2 separate regions of the Homo sapiens genome follow, and region 1 is linked to region 2. Evidence: promoter capture Hi-C in 16 types of primary human blood cells and fetal thymus (Javierre and others, 2016). All regions are on one chromosome and are shown on one strand. Each heading gives the region's core, a stretch centred on a gene start or on the middle of the fragment in contact. The rest is flanking DNA. Distances are from core to core; before and after follow the strand shown.

What was found. The method cuts DNA at HindIII sites, captures the fragments that hold promoters and counts their contacts. A CHiCAGO score of 5 or more calls a contact.
Region 1: a contact is called between a fragment that was not itself captured here and the fragment with the promoter of CLBA1 in region 2, in 1 of 17 cell types (neutrophils). The highest score is 5.2, in neutrophils.

The regions. Positions count from the first base shown.
Region 1 is chr14:104,754,968-104,758,717 of GRCh38, forward strand. SIVA1 (SIVA1 apoptosis inducing factor) reads left to right here. Exons shown (of 4, transcript NM_006427.4): 2 at 663-857; 3 at 1,637-1,793. It overlaps LOC107987209 (a long non-coding RNA gene), which reads right to left. Exons shown (of 3, transcript XR_001750915.3): 2 at 1,439-2,453. Among named protein-coding and RNA genes, the nearest start is that of SIVA1, 3.7 kb to the left of the region's middle. The HindIII fragment of the contact is 2,093 bases long and covers 328-2,420 here.
Region 2 is chr14:104,984,533-104,991,368 of GRCh38, forward strand. It overlaps CLBA1 (clathrin binding box of aftiphilin containing 1), which reads left to right and starts at 1,256. Exons shown (of 5, transcript NM_174891.4): 1 at 1,256-2,322; 2 at 4,411-4,556. The coding sequence starts at 1,900. RefSeq lists a silencer at 1,045-1,514. The HindIII fragment of the contact is 10,527 bases long and covers 1-6,836 here.

The DNA.
Region 1 (3,750 bases), core at 124-2,623, 230 kb before region 2:
CCTGGGCATCTGATTTTTCAAAGCTCCCCAGGTGACTGAACTGTGGCCTGATGGAAAACCACTGCTCCCAGGGATGGGTGGGTGTTCTAGAACAAGAGGTCTGGAAGGTTCTGGGATGCTTGTCTTGCCAGCAACTCTGTAGCAGGTGAAGGGGGTGTGCTCTGGCCAGAGGCTGTAGGCCCAGCTCCAAGCCTCTGGCTGCTTCCTTGGCAGGGGACGAGTTTTGTGAATTAGTGCTCCACAGTGCAGAGCTCCCTCTGTGCATTCCACAGAGCCTGGTTTCCAGGTGGGGAGTGCTGGGGAAGCAGAAAAGGGAGAAAGGGGACAAGCTTAGTGAGGCGAGGCCAGCCGTGAATTGCAGAAAATGAGCCGAGTGATAGGAGAGGGAACCCTTGCATCAGACACAGGTGGGGCTGCAGGGCCAGAGCCTTCCTGGAGGAGATGACAGCTAAGCCAGGTAAGGAAAGGACGCACAAGCATTCTCAGCATAGAGGCAGAGCAGGACCCAGCTCGCCAGGGCACAACACAGGCTGGGGTTACTGGGAGACAGAGGGCACACAGGAGGACGATGGGGTTCATGTGAGGCTAGAAAGACTCAATGGCCATGCAGGGGCTTCGTTGGTACACAGTGAAGGACGTGAGAATGATTTATCTTCCCCCAGAGAAGACCAAGCGACTCCTGTTCCTCGGGGCCCAGGCCTACCTGGACCACGTGTGGGATGAAGGCTGTGCCGTCGTTCACCTGCCAGAGTCCCCAAAGCCTGGCCCTACAGGGGCCCCGAGGGCTGCACGTGGGCAGATGCTGATTGGACCAGACGGCCGCCTGATCAGGAGCCTTGGGCAGGCCTCCGAAGCTGGTGAGTGGCACCAGCAGCCCTTTGTGGCTGTGGCACTGAGGGCAGGTGGTGGCACGAGCATTTTTCTTGATTTGCAAGGTCAGGCTTTTCCTCCCTGGGTAAGCAGGACTCTGACCCAGAGCTTGGCCTTCTGGCTCAGAAGGCTCCTGTTATCAGGAGGTCTCACATTCAAGACTGGAAGTTGTTAAACAGCTTCTAAGTACTGGGCCAAAAAAGCAGCAGAGACTCCCCGGGTATCCCGTCTGCTTTCCGCCTGCAGCCCCCTCAGATAGTCCCACAAGGCTGGAAACATGCCAGTCCCATCCCTATGCAGTGTGGGGTCTCAGAGCATCACCTGTGTTGCTGGTTAGAAATGCAATCCCCGACTCTACCTCAAGTCTGGTTGGTGTGTCTAGGAGGAGCCCAGGCACCTCTTTGTTAACCAGTAAGGCAGTGGGCCACACTGAGACCCAGATGGGACACATGGAGTTCTGACAAGCAACAGGGGAAGAATGGTCCTTCCAGCACTAGCCTCCAGGTAGCAGAGGGACCTGGTAAGGGAAAGAGCACTGAACTTGGAGTCAACTACAGGCATATCTCACCTTGGATCTCTGTAGTAAAACGGGGGTCCTGTGCACTGTACCAGGCTCACGGGTTGTCAGAAGGATCCAGTGTAGGTGGGGATGGGGTAGGCAGGTCAGAGCCCTCTGCCCTCAGGTATGCATGGAGGCAGGTAGCCCGGCAGTCCCGGAAACTCCAGTCTCCTTGCAGCCTGACGGCTTGGCGTTTCTTCCTCACAGACCCATCTGGGGTAGCGTCCATTGCCTGTTCCTCATGCGTGCGAGCCGTGGATGGGAAGGCGGTCTGCGGTCAGTGTGAGCGAGCCCTGTGCGGGCAGTGTGTGCGCACCTGCTGGGGCTGCGGCTCCGTGGCCTGTACCCTGTGTGGCCTCGTGGAGTAAGTACTTCAGTCCCTGGAGCTGCTGAGATCCCATAGCCCCAGCAAGCCGTGATGGGGGACGGGTGGGTCACCCATGTGGGCCCAGAACACACACGTGTGGCCCCTGATGCAGTGCCATCTGGCATTGCCTAACGGGACATGGTGGCAATAGATGCTTGGCCCAACTTTAGTGGTTAGTAATCCTCTCTAAGGGAAAGCTGAACCTCACAGATGACCTGCTCTGTATCCGGCTCTAGTCCCTGTCTTCAGCCACTTCCTGTTCTGATCTTTGAGCACCCCCACCTCCTCCTCCTCTGGTCTTTGAGCCCCCCCTCCCCCCGTCCGAGGAGCCCCTGGTTGGTGACACAGGTGCACACCGCAGCTTCACCACAGTCATGCGTGCCGTTTGGTTGTAGACCCTCTCAGGCAGGAAGTGGAGTGTTTGTGTAGTCTCCCATTTGTGGGTGGGTTTGCTGCAGCTGGCTGGATCCCGTCCTTACTCCTAAGGTGGGGAGGGGCGTTCTCACCCTAGGGGCTACTCACCTGGTGGATGGGAGTGGACAGTGTGGAGCCTGTTTGCCCTGCCCCGTGAGAAAGATGACTTCATCCAGACACATGTGGAACTGGCTCCATAGACCCAAAGCAAGCTTAGTCCAAACAATGTCTGAAATTGTCCATCTAAAATAGAAACCACATGTTACATCTCGAGTCCTTTCTCTCGAGCCTTTCTTCAGTCGGGGCAGAGGCCCAGACTCATTGGAGACGGAGAGCCCTGGGCAGGGGGGGCAGCACCAGGGAGAAGCGCCGCGTGCCAGTGATCGGCTCCCATGGCTTCAGCATGGGCAGGAGTGGGGTAACGCACCCCATCCAGGTTGGGAATCATCTGCAGGGCTAGCTATGAATGTGGGATACTCTGTCTTTGCTTTTCACCCGCTGAGTTCATCTTCTTTCCTAGAAGTAAACTGAAAAGGGCAGGGTTTTCTCATTGTCTGGTGGCCCTCTCACCAAAGCAGAAGTGAACATAGCCATGGGCAGGTTCAGCGGAGAGGTGGGTCCCAGAGCGCTGCGTGGCTGGCCTCCCACTCCTGCCCTGCACACCATCCTTGAGGGACTCCCTTGCGCCCATTTCCTCCTGGCCTCTACCTACTTTCTGCTGCTGCTTCCTCCCATACCCACAGAGTTCACGTTGAGCTGAGTGGGCCACTGTCCCCACTGTGGACACACTCTTTTATCGCAGCTACAGCACAGGAGGTGGGCTCTGCCCTCTTTCACAAATAAATGACTTGTTCCAGGTCACAAGCCAGAAGTGGCATTCCCAGGCCAGGCAGCCCAGCTGGTGGCACCCGCAGTCTCCTACCCCCTCCCCTGCCATTTCCTACTTCAGGACCAGGCGTCGCAGGAGTGGGGGAAAACAGGGATCTGTCCACACGGCTCTGGTTTAACACAGATGCAGCCCAGCAGCCTTTGGCGTCCTGCTGATGGCCTGCACTGGCCCACGCCTGGCCCGTCCTCTGCAGGGCTCTCCAGCTGGCTGCCGGTGGCGGTGAGGGGCTGTCTTCGCGGCTCACCCACAATACTACTGGCAAACTCTGCAAACCAAGTGGCAAGCAGTTCTGGCTGCCTTGTTGACTCCACGGCCCTGTCGTGTTTGGGGTAGCCATTGCCAGTCCCGTTTCCTCGCAACATCTCTCTTAATCACTTTCTCCCTGTGTTTTGCCGGGTTCCCTAGCCTTTACCTTTAGAGCTTTCTTTTTTTTTTTTTTTTGAGACGGAGTCTCGCTCTGTCACCCAGGCTGGAGTGCAGTGGTGCGATCTTGGCTCACTGCAACTTCCACCTCCTGTGTTCAAGCAATTTTCCTGTCTCAGCCTCCCAAGTAGCTGGAGTTACAGGCGTGCGCTAGCACGCCCAGCTAATTTTTGTATTCTTAGTAGAGACAGAGTTTCACCATGTTGGCCAGGCTGGTCTCGAACTCCT
Region 2 (6,836 bases), core at 6-2,505:
TGATCTCATCTTGTCATTTGTAAAATTAAATTGTTCTGTAGCTTGGCTGAGAAGGACCAGGGAGGGAAGGGGTGATTCAAGCAAGGACAGAGTCCAGGCAGGGCCCCAGGCCCCAGGGTGGGAGAAATGCGAGCCTGAGGTAGATAGGGGGTGGACAGTAGGTGGCATGGTTCAGGGCTTCACCAGGGCCAGGCCCTCCCCTTACCCAGAGGAGGCAGTGATGGGGGCCAGTCTGGGAAGGCCAGGGAGGAGATGGAGTCAAGGTTGACTCCTTGAGTCTGGGGGTGAGGGCAGATGGCAGAAGGCCTGGAAGCCCGGAGGGGAGCTGCCAGAGGCCAGCCTAGCTCCTTGGTCGTCCAGTGGCTGGAGAGGGGCTGTCCGTCAGCCCTGCTCTGCCCGGGTCTGGCTGGTGACAAAGGAGGGGAGCACTCCATGCGGCCTGCGAGGGAGGGGTGGAGCCTCCCCGCAGCTCCTTCCCCCAGGAATGGGGACGAGTTAGGGGCGGGCGAGGTTTTGGGATTCAGGAGTCAGCAAGACGGACTTGGCTCTCGCCAGGGACAGGTGGGGTCCTGAGGGGCCGTCGCTCAGCTGCACCCACAGAGGGGTCGGCGGCGCGGCAAGTTAGGCTGCGGGGCGCCGGGAGAAGGGGCTGCGGGTGACGGGTGCGCTGGGACGGACCTGGGGAGCTCGTCGTGAGGAAGAAAGAACCACTCTAGGGCCAGGCCCAGTGGCTCAAGCCTGTAATCCCAGCACTTTGGGAGGCCGAGGCGGGCGGATCACGAGGTCAGGAAATCGAGACCATCCTGGCTAACACGGTGAAACCCAGTCTCTATTAAAATACAAAAAAATCAGCCGGGCGTGGTGGCGGGCGCCTGTAGTCCCAGCTACTCGGGAGGCTGAGGCAGGAGAATGGCGTGAACCCGGGAGGCGGAGCTTGCAGTGAGTCGAGATCGCGCCACTGCTCTCCAGCCTGGGCGACAGAGCGAGACTCCGTCTCAAAAAAAAAAGAAAAAAAAAAAAAAGAAAGAACCACTCGGGCGGCGAACTGAGCACGGACAGAAAGCTCGAGCGGCCCGGCGCCCAGGGCTCGGCCAGTGTGGAAGCCCGATCCCACCCGCAGCGGAGGCGGCCCGGGGCAGGGAGGGCGGGTCCGGGGCGGGTCCTGAACGGCGGGGGCCGGCGCTGGCCTCGCCCCGGATGCGTGCTGACGCCACGGCGACGGACGCCGGAAGCGGAGCTGGCGCACGCCGTTGCCAGGCAACGGGGCGGCGCAGGCAGGAGGGAACGGCTGGTTGCAGGTTTCTCTCGCCCTGGTCCCGCGCGGCCCCGCCGAGGCGGCGACCAAGGTGGGTGCGGGGACTCTCGGGAGCCGTGGGCCAGGCGCTTAGCCGGCCACCTCGGGCCCTGTCCAGGCCCAGGCGTTCCAGGGCTGCTCTGCGGGCCGCGTGCGAGAGGGACTCTCGGGAGGCCCCGGGGCGCCGCACCCACTCCTTCCCACTTGGGACTCCCGCGGGCGCCCGGCTCTCGCTCCTCTGGCCAGCGTGGGCCTCCCAGGCCCCCTCGCGGCTCTCTCCAGAGCAGGAGCCCCACCTTGGGCCGCCCCTCTCACACCTGCCGTGGGTCTGGTACGCGCCTCTGTGTCGGACTCCGCGCCCGCCTGCGTGGGAGGAAGCCAGGACTCCCGGGCGACCGGGCCATTCCTGTGGTTTGTGTCAGTTCCACAGCAGCACGTGGGCACTTTCCACCGTCAGCCACTGGGCAGCCCGGGGCACTCCTGCAGCGTCCCCTGGCCCTCTCCAGGGCAGGGGAAGGTTGGGCAGTCCTGGGCGGCCAGCACCCCGGCGTGCATGTCTCCTGAGCAGCTGCCCATCGGGCCTCTGCTGGCCTGGGGGCTCCAAGATGCAAGGCCGGCGGGAGCTGGGGGGAGAGCCTTTGAGTGACCTCCAGGAGGAAGCAGCCAGCGCTTCCCTCCGAGTGGCACCTGAGAGGCTGAGTGATGACAGTTTGGAATGGAGACGGACCTGCCCCGACCTTCTCCTGTCCGATGGGAAAGCCAGCATCTCCATGCCCCGTGAGGGCGGTTCCACCTGCACTGCCCGATGTCCTGACCCTGGGGAACACAGCAGCACTTGGGGGGAGTTTGAAGGCTTTCGGGAATCTTCAGCCAAGTCTGGACAATTCTCACAGTCCCTTGAACTCCTCGAGGGACCCACAGAACCCCAGCCACCGAGAACCACTTCTGCCCCAAAAGAGTGCAGTTCTCACCAACCATGCCAGGGTGGACCTTGGGTGACAGGAACTTCTGCCGTCCCACCTTCTGAGGTATTTCTGCTGTGCTGTGGTCACCATGTTGAGTGGGACGTGTACACACCAAGAGGCCTACAGCCCTCGAATGCTGTGGCGTGCTGGCCAGGGAGGGGGCTGACAGCCCCAGAGCGTCTGCTTCTCTCCTGGCCTTCGTCCCTGGCCATGTGGTTGGCAGTCCCATCCTGAGGCCAGGGAAGCAATGAGTTGGCAGAGGAGGCTGCAGAAATGGGTCACACGAAGGCCAGGTGGGGGCCACCTGAGCTGGGTCGCTCTTTCTGACCATTCCTCCCCCAGCCTGTCCATTCCCCATTGGTGGGGGCTGCACTGGCCCCAGCTCAGGGCATTTGAGGAGGAGCTTTTTGTCTGAATTCTGAATCTGCTGAGTTCAAAAGTCTCAGAGATTCTAAAATCACATGATCACATTTCAACTTGCTTGTAATGAATTGGGTGACGCGGGATCCAACCTGTCCGGGAGCTTGTAATGAATTGGGTGATGCCCATTCCGACCTGTCCGGGAGCCAGGGTCCCAGCCTTCAGGCCCCTGCCCCCTGCTCTCTTTCAGAGCAGACTGTGGGTGTTTACCGTTTGGTGACACTTCCGCTCCTTCTCTTTTCCTGTCTTCTTCCTTCCATTGTTCCTCTTTCTCTGCCACTTCTTCCCAAATGGTTCATCCCAAGCACCATCATGAGAGATCAGAAATAAAACCAGTGAGGAAGGAAATAAAGATATTGTAGTTCTCAGGGCTGGCCTGTTTTCTCTTCCTTTTCTTTTTTTTTTTTTTTTTTTTTTTTTTTTTTTGAGACAGCCTCACTCTGTCGCTGAGGCTGGAGTGCAGTGGCACTGTGTCGGCTCACTGCAACCTCTGTCTCCTGGGTTCAAGCAGTTCTCCTGCCTTAGCCTCCTGAGTAGCTGGGATTACAGGCATCCACCACCACGCCCGGCTAACTTTTTATATATATATATATATATGTATGTTTAGTAGAGACTGGGTTTTACCATGTTTGCCAGGCTGGTCTTGAACTCCTGACCTCAGGTGATCCGCCCGCCTCGGCCTCTCAAAGTGCTGGGATTACAGGCGTGAGCCACCATGCCCGGCCGGACTGTTTTCTGAAGCAGTTTCCCTGGAATCCTGATGAGATCCACTCTTAATAGAGTAAGGTCTGCTGTAATGCTTGTTTTGAATACAGGATTTGTTTTCCAGCGTGATTGATGTATTAGGGAACAATTAGAGCATAGTTGAAATTTCACAAGAAAGAGTAGATAAATGCAGAAAACTGCCCCCAGCTGAGCTGGGGCCCGTTGGAATACATGAGACTCGCACACGTACACCCTCACACAGCGCTTAGTGCCCCAATGTAGCACACCTGTCAACACCTGGTGTTAGGACTTCACCCGGTTCAGACCACCCTCCTCCTACCCCTTCACACTAACTCAGCCTGCGAGCCTTTGTCTTTTCCAAGGTAAAGTGCTGTGCTTACTGTAGTATGTATAATTTCTTTTTTTTTTTTTTTGAGACGGAGTCTCTCTCTGTCACCCAGGCTGGAGTGCAGTGGCACAATCTCGGCTCACTGCAACTTCTGCCCCCCACCCGCCGGATTCAAGCGATTCTCCTGCCTCAGCCTCCTAAGTAGCTGGGATTATAGGCGTGTACCACCACACCCAGCTAATTTTTGTATTTTTAGTAGAGATGGGGGTTTCACCATGTTGGCCAGGCTGGTCTCGAACTCCTGACCTCGTGATCTGCCCACCTGGGGCTCCCAAAGTGCTGGGATTACAGGCGTGAGCCACCGCGCCCGGCCGCATGTATAATTTCTTAACCAAACTGGAAAACAGCACTGACATTATTGGGTGGTCATCTTTTTTCATGTGTCACTGATGAAGTTTGAATGTTTTGCCCTAACCCCACCTTTCCCATGAGTCCTCTGGTTTTGTGTGATTTTGCTAACTTGGTGATTTTTAGGAATGAATATGTCAAGTGATAGTAACACTAATGGTATGATCAATTACAAATTTCATTTCTATCACAATTATTTCTTTGGAATAAGGTAACGTTATGTATGTCTTTCTCCTAACTTTGGTATGCTTTTCTTCTTTTCTTTTCAGCCCATTCTCAGCTATGAGAACATTTTAAAGTGTGCTTTTCAAGAAATAACAGTCCAGCAGGCAGCTGAAGACGTTTCCACCATAGACCATTTCCTAGAAATAAGCAGTGAAGAAAAACCTGGCGTTGAACGTGTACATAAATTGTGGTAATGAACTGAAGAAATATTTCTTACAGCAACTGCTTTTGTACTTTTGTTTGATAAAAGTAGGTGTGTGAGGCTTTGTTTTTGCCTTTATGGAGAGTAGCATCTCTCCTGAGGTCCCTGCCATCTGTGGGTCATAGGGGTCCTATGAGAAGGGGCAGCACGATTGGCGCTCCAGCTGTGGCCTTCCACTCTGAGCCCTATTCATCCTCCTCCCCAGCCAGCTCACCTGGAGCAGCTGGACCCAAGCCCAGCTCCCCTTGGGTCTCAGTGCCAGTGCTGGTGGAGTGGGTGGGGGCCTCGCATTCAGTGCGAGTGGCTGGTGGGCCTGGGCAGTGGGCACAGGGGCCTTCTGGGGGACTTGGCTGAGTGGGCACCGGCTGCCTCATGGTTCTCAGCCACAGAGTTCTAGAAAACGTTCCACACTCTGGAGCCCCATTGTCAGCCCCAGGCCCAGCCCCAGGGGTGCTCCCGGTGCTGCCTGCAGGGCCACAGGCTCCTAGGGGAAAGTGCACCCGCAGTCACTCGCAGATGGCCATTTTCCAGGGACACACTTTCAACTGAGCATTGAAAGACAGACAGCGCTCGAGTGGATTAGGCCGCAGTGGTTGAGAAGCTCGAGGTAAGTTGGCCCAAGGCCCCAGAGGGAGGAGGGAAGTGAAGGTTGGGGTGAGCTAGCTTCCCTGTCCCTCGGTGTGGTCTGCGGAGTGGGTCTCCCAGCAGCCAGGGGAGAGCCAGGTCAGCCTGCTGATTTTTGTGTCTCTGAGCAGGCCTGGACTTTCAGAGAGCTCTGCAGACAGGCCATTCTGGGCTCCAGCCCTGGCCCACCGTGTCCTCTGCTGGGGTCCAACCAGCACCTGCCCCAGGGTACCCTCTACAGGGGCTTGAGGACAGAGGCCTGGAGCCCAGAAGGCCGCAACCAGCATTGCCCAGATGGCCCGTGTGCCCTCTGTGTGTGGTGCTTCTGCAAAGCATGATCCCTGGGGAAAAACTGTGGAGAATGTGGTCCCAGCAAGCTGACGGTGGGGGTGGGCTCTGTGCTGGCAGCATTGACATCTCTGTCCCCAGCAGCACAACTCGCGGACCCAGAGGCATGGGGAGTCCTGGGTGTCAGGACTTGGCGGGGCTGGACACTCGTGGGACAGAAGGCTGGATGGTACTTTGGGGGTGGAGTAGAGCATGGTTTGTGTGTTCTGAAACACTGGGGTATTTTTGGAAATGGTTTGGTGTTTAGCACATTTGCTCTTCTTCTGTACTCATCTGGAGTGCAGTGGCACCATCTCAGCTCACTACAGCCTCCGTCTCCTAGGCTTAAGCGATCTTCCTGCCTCAGCCTCCTGAGTACTGGGACTACAGGCACCCGCCACTACACCCAGCTAATTTTTGTATTTTTTGTAGAGACAGGGTTTTGCTATGTTGCTCAGGCTGGTCTCAAACTCCTGAGCTCAAGTGATTTGCCCTCCTCAGTCTCCCAAAGTGCTGGGTTTACAGGTGTGAGCTGCCGCACCTGCCCTTGCACTCATTTTCCCTTCCATACTAGAACGTGAACTTCCTGCAGGCAGACCTTCTCAGTCCCTCACAGTGCGTAGCAGTGACGTGTGGCACATAGTAGACATTCACCGTTGGTTTGCTCATTTGTTCTCCTGAGCATGCACTGGTACTCGTAGTTTGGGAGCATCTGTTTTGTACTCAGCACAGTTCTAGGCACTTGAGTGAACAAAACCAGCAAAATATCTGGTCTCACGGAGCTTCCACTCCTTGGAGGAGACAGTAACGGCAGTAAGTCAGCTACTCCAGGGCAGGTGCTGTGAGGCATAGAGGGGGCACGGGAGGTGGGTTGGGGTGTTGAAGGATGGCACGTGTTGTTTGAATAAAAGTATAAATGAACAAATAAATGAGACAGCCCAGTGCTCCTGCAGGGAATGCTGTTTTTATTTGTTTTTTTGTTTGTTTGTTTGAGACAGAGTCTCACTCTGTCCCCCAGGCTGGAGTGCAGTGGCGCGATCTCCGCTCCCTGCAACCTCCGCCTCCCGGGTTCAAGCGATTCTCCTGCCTCAGCCTCCCCAGTAGCTGGGATGACAGGCGCCCATCACCACGCCCGGCTATTTTTTTGTATTTTTAGTAGAGACGGGGTTTCACTATGTTGGCCAGGCAGATCTTGAACTCCTGACCTCCTGATCTGTCAGCCTCAGCCTCCCAAAGTGCTGGGATTACAGGCGTGAGCCACTGTGCCCAGCCCGGGAACACTGTTTTTAGAGTTCTTAACAGCCATACGCCTCTTGG